2 separate regions of the Homo sapiens genome follow, and region 1 is linked to region 2. Evidence: promoter capture Hi-C in human tissues and cell types (Jung and others, 2019). All regions are on one chromosome and are shown on one strand. The core of a region is centred on a gene start or on the middle of the fragment in contact, and the rest is flanking DNA. Distances in the headings are between cores, read along the strand shown.

Region 1 (2,700 bases), core at 126-2,625, 37 kb before region 2:
CTGAGAGGTGATGTGATTCGCTAACAGCAGGTCTGAGTCTGATCCCAATCCAGGTCCTCTAATGCTGTCACAGTGTTTTGCCTGTCACAGTGTTTTGTCACCCTGAGCCTTGGCCCCCCTAGCCAGCCAGTGTGCTCTATTGGAGACAGTGGGCACCAGCTGAGGAGGTTGGGAGGGGAGAGAGCAGTGTGGTTGGTCAGGCGTTTGTGGAATTGGAAGTTGGAGGCCCTGGGGTTGGACCTTCCAAATGTCCCAGACTGTCAGTGTTTCTATCAACTGGGTGAAGGAAGCCACTCTATGCCTGTTCCCCCACGTGCCCTCTGTGCCACTGCTCATGTGTCCGCCCCTCCCCTGGCTGCAGTGCATGTCCTACCCGATTCTTGCCTGGTGGCGTTCCCCAAGGCCCGTTACTACTGTCTCTCTGCATTTTTTTTTTTTAGACGGAGTTTTTGCTCCGTTGCCCCAGCTGGAGTGCAATGGCATGATTTCGGCTCACTGCAACCTCCGCCGCCCGGGTTCAAGCGATTCTCCTGCCTCAGCCTCCTGAGTAGCTGGGACTACAGGTGCATGCCACCAAGACTGGCTAATATTTGTATTTTTAGTAGAGACAGGGTTTCACCATGTTACCCAGGCTGGTCGCGAACTCTTGACCTCAGGTGGTCCACCCTCCTCAGCCTCCCAAAGTGCTGAGATTACAGGCGTGAGCTACTGTACCAGGCCTGCATTTTCTTTTTCCAGCTCTGAGCACAGCACCTGGAAGTTTCCATGAATGGTGGATGGAAAAAAAAGGCTTTGATTTGATAAGCTTCTTCCTCCCCCACACACATCATGAGTTTCCCCCATCCAGGGTTGTGGCAGAGCGGAGTGATTTATAGGACTTTGCAGAAGTGGAAGAAATGACGGAAATTGAGTTTATTGATCAACCCTCAGAGAAGCTGCCTGGCAGGCTCCTGGCCTGGGATACTGCCAGCAGCTAACATGCTGCTCTGTTTTACCCGTGCAAATGACAGGGGCACAGACCAGCTCCCAGAGGAGGAGGAGGACAGGCTGTTCCCCACCTCCACCCAGGCCGGGAGTTGAGGAGAGGGGCTGGTCTTGCAGTTGGAGGAAGTGTGTTAGACTCCTGTGAGAACCACCTAATTAAGTGGCTTGAGATATCGGGGCTGAGTGGTTGAGGCGGGACCTTCGAGTGGAGACCCTGAGCATTCTGTAGAAGGCCCCTCAGCTGTGACTGTTGGGAGCAGAGCTCTGCTGCCTGCCAGGGGGGATGTTGTTGTTGAGATGAGCAAGAAGGCTCAGAATGGCTTCCTCTTACCAGTTTCTCCTACTTTCTTCACATTTAAGGTGATTATTGCAATAGTTGGCTTAATCTCTGCCATGTTTATAACTGTTTTCTAGTCATTATATTTGTTTTCTTTTTTTTTTGCTTCTCTTTTTCTGCCTCTCTGGTTTTAATCGAGCATTTTATATGATTTCATTTCCTTCCCCAAATATTATTGAGTGCTTACTGTGTGCCAGGTACTGTGGTAGGTGCTAGGAAGATGATTTTGAACCAGACTTCGTCTTCGCCCTTCAGGTACTTGCAGTTATGTGCTCTGAGAGAAAAATAAAGAATTTTTCTGATTATCCCACATGGGGAAGGGAAGGGAAGGGAGCCAGCCACCAGATGATCTAGGAGACCTCACATTCCCACTTCCTGCTGCATGTTGTTCTGGGGAGGGGGATCTCTGGCTCACCTGCACCCACTGGGTGAGCCTGGGTGCTCCCCACCTCCCACTGCATCTGTATGTCTGGGCCCCTCCTCCACAAAGCCATCCCTGGAGCTGGGGCAGAAGCCCCTGAGCACATGCAGTGGAGCAGGAGGGCTGCAGCTGATGCTAAACTCTTCTGTGTGCTCTGCCCTGGCCTGGGTGGCTGCTGGCTGGGGAGGACTGGTTCCCGGATTGGGCCTGGCCTGTGGCTTCTGTAGGGACTCTGTACACTGTGGGCTTGGTGAGTGCTTATGTGGAGGGACACAGGGCAAAGAGAGCATCAGGAGATACCAGGAGGGTCAATGGAAAACTGCTGGGTCCTGGGGTCCTTCCTGCTGTTATTTGGGCTCTACACCCCTTTGCCTGGTTGCAAGGTGGGGAGAAAGGCCAGGATCGGGGAGAATATGACTGTACTTCTTCCAGGTCCCAAAAGTGGTGTCTTCTTGAGTTCTGATGCAGCAGGAAGAACTGAAGTTAGACTCTGGGAAGGACTTTCTAATGTGGAAGCACAAGCTGTGGAATGCGGAGCTGAGTGTGGGGGTGGACTCTTTCTTTGGAAAGATTTCCAAGGTGGTGAGCTCTTCCTGTCTTCTCTGTCCTCCCCCTATCTGCTGTCTGTTGAATCTTTTCCAGGGCAGGGGGCTAGGTGCTGTGAGCTTTAGGGGGCCCTGACAGCCCAAGCTCAGTGACAGCAGCTGCCTCCTCAGAGCACAGCATCCCAATCTCCCTGGCTCAAGAGGCACCTCCTCTTGTCACTCCAGACTGTCAGCAGGCATCCAACCTGCTTTCTAGGTCCCAACCCCAGCGGGTGCCTTTGGGCTGATCTCGAGTCTGCATGGGATCTCTCCAGTGGGGGTCGGATTTACAGTTCCTTGGTGGAAACAGGCCTTCAGGCAGATGCCCTGTACCCTGCAAGCGTTCAGGGTTCCAGGCAAGCCAAGAGATACTC
Region 2 (2,700 bases), core at 49-2,548:
GGGGCCCGGGCCAGGATTCGGCAAGAGACCTCAGGCTGAGCCCAGAGCTGAGCACCAATGGGGTGTGGGGTTGGGTAGGGAGGAGTGGGGTGCAGATTGTGAGCAAAGTCAGAATTCTTAAATGAAAGGAGCTGGTTCAGGTCCCCCTGCCTCTGGGGAGTTCCCTGACTGGTGAAAATAAGGCCTATTCTGAAAATGCTTAGAAAAGATCCAATGCAGGGGATGAATACGCTACAGGCACTGTGTGGGGGAAGGGTAGGAGCTGGGGAATAAGGATGAAATGGGACTTGGTGCCAGCACAGCAGGCTTCCTGGAAGCAGTGGCTTTGTGGGAGGGGAAGGCCCAAGATAGCCTGTGTCACAGATGGCCCTGGCTTTCAGGCTGGCACCTTTAGTGACCTGCAGTGAGGTCCTTCATCCATGAGGGACTCTGGCCCACCTTTCTCTGCCTCCTGGTGAGAGTGCCTCTAACTTGTAACCCACCCGGAATGGCAGTCCTGTGCTCCCTCGGCATGTCCCCCAGGCTGGGGCACAATATCACAATGGACCAGGAAATCCTTCCTCGCCTCTAATTCTGTTTCTCCTGCTGCAAACAATGTGGGCATCACTCATCCAAGCAGCTACTGGGCAACTGTACTAGCGGCTCCCAGGGGCTGTTAGTCAAAGCCTTCACTGAACCAGGACCTTTTAAAGTTTCTTATTTTGAGAATTTTCACATATACCAAAGAGTATAGCAAAATAAACATCCATATACTCCTCACTCCAGTTTAGCAAACGTGACTATTTCGAAGTCATTGGAAGCACAGAAGAACCTGGCAAAGTGTTCCCTTGGAGCTAAGACCTCCTCCACACCTGCCCTGTGCCCTCGCCACGCCTCTGGACTTAAAAGTGGAGGTGGAGGGATTACTCACAGCACTGGAGCAGCACCAGGACCACAAAGCCTGAAGAGAAATCCAGGATGAGACCCCTGCAAGTGCATCCTGCCCTTCCGCCCTGCTCCCTCCCCCAAGCAACTGAGACCCACCTCCCCCACCCCCACCTCCTGGTTGCAGCCTCAGTCCCTCCCCTGGCTCTGCTTCTCCTCCCCCTCTGCCCACTCCCTTAGTCCCTCACCCAGCAGGCAGATGGCTCTGCGGGCTGTCTGGGCCTGAAAACCCACAACTCTGATGGATTAACCTTGGCTAGCCCAGATACCTGTTTGAGACGCCTTCACACCCATTCTGGCTGCAGCAGAGCAGGGCAGGGTGTGGCCTCTTCCCTTGCCCACGGCTCCTGGTGCCAGCTACCTAGACAGGGCCTCTTCCCCAGGCCCTGTACTTCCTTTATATACCTGTCCCACTCCACTCCCCGACGCGGCAAACCAGCCCTTTTATGGGAACTGAGCTATGTGTCAATGAAGGAATCACGAGGCTGGCAAGTGGAGGCGGGGGAGTACTATGGATTACCAGAGGAGGGTTGAGAAACCGCAGAGTTTTGAAAACTTTGGGTCAGGTCTTCATGAGGCACCTGCCAGCAGAAGAGCCACTAGGGTGATGATGGGGGGCTTCTGGAGATGTGACTCAGCCGCATTTCCCAGCCTTCCTCCCACTCCTGCACCCCACCACTGGCCTTTCTTGCCAGCAATTTCCTGGCTTTTCTGGCAGCCTCTACCTTTGCATCTTCAGCATTCACTCCAGGCCCCTGGCCAGGTGGAAACTGGGCACAATTTAGTTACGTAAGCCACAGTGCCCTAAACAAGGCTGTTGTTTTCTTCCCAGGCTCAGCATTGCCCTGCTTGACCTACCTTCCTACCCTCCCCCTCACACTTTCTGTCTTCAGGCTGGGTAAGGGCCAGAGAGCCTCGGGAGGAAGGAAAGCAAAGAGCCTGAAACTGAGCGCTCCCTTTTGGGCCCGTGTCTTTTTTTTTTTTTTTTTTTTTTTTTTTGCAATTTACATGCTGATTATTTAGAGGGAAAGACAGGGAAATTCCCAAGAATGCTTTAAGCCCCGGTGCTATTTTGCTTCTGTTTTGAAATTCCCATAAAGAGAGAGGATCTTTTGCAAGCTCGGTGCTGCAGTGAGGCACCATGGAGGAAATACAGGCCCTACGGGGCGGCTGCACGAGCATCTGACATCAGTCAGCTCCCCAACTCTCTCAGTGAGGCTTTGGAACCCAAGCCTGATGATACAGCCCCTCTCTAAATCCTTCAGTGATCTCTCATCACTCCTAGGACAAGAACAAAACTTCTTAACGAGGCTCCCTGCCTGATTACGTCCCTGTTTGTGGATACATTTTTTTTTTGGCCAAATATCCAGGACAACTCCATTCTTTGCAGGCTTAACATTAATTAATAGGCAGTGAGTGAAAAGTTCAGAACTCCAAGAGGCAGAATGGGTCCAAGGGCTTCTCAAGAAAGTACCTTTATTTTTCACTAATGTTAGGTAATACTCTAATTTTTCCAGGCTGGTTTTGCAGCTCTCTCGGTGAGGTCTCTCTGCTCTCTCCCTCTTCTCTCCCTCTCTCCCTTTCTCTTCCTTTAAAACTCAGCCAGTGCCTTCCCTTCATTGTAAGAGAGGTGGACAAAAAGTGGCTTGTCCAGAATCACGCTCGGTGAATACTAAAGAGGCATCACTTTTCCTTTTTAAGATGACTGCCTCCTTTTGTACCCAAGATGATTGACAGCAATGACAGTCAATGATAGCTTCTTCTGGTTCATTTGGG

The links. The method cuts DNA at HindIII sites, captures the fragments that hold promoters and counts their contacts. A contact is called where the count stands out against the background at its distance.
Region 1: a contact is called between a fragment that was not itself captured here and the fragment with the promoter of CHI3L1 in region 2, in 1 of the 25 tissues and cell types used here (liver).

The regions. Positions count from the first base shown.
Region 1 is chr1:203,148,458-203,151,157 of GRCh38, forward strand. The region is part of intron 3 of ADORA1 (adenosine A1 receptor); the gene reads left to right. Among named protein-coding and RNA genes, the nearest start is that of ADORA1, 22 kb to the left of the region's middle. The HindIII fragment of the contact is 9,638 bases long and covers 1-2,700 here.
Region 2 is chr1:203,185,406-203,188,105 of GRCh38, forward strand. It overlaps CHI3L1 (chitinase 3 like 1), which reads right to left and starts at 1,299. Exons shown (of 10, transcript NM_001276.4): 1 at 1,194-1,299; 2 at 911-940. The coding sequence starts at 1,218. The HindIII fragment of the contact is 13,862 bases long and covers 1-2,700 here.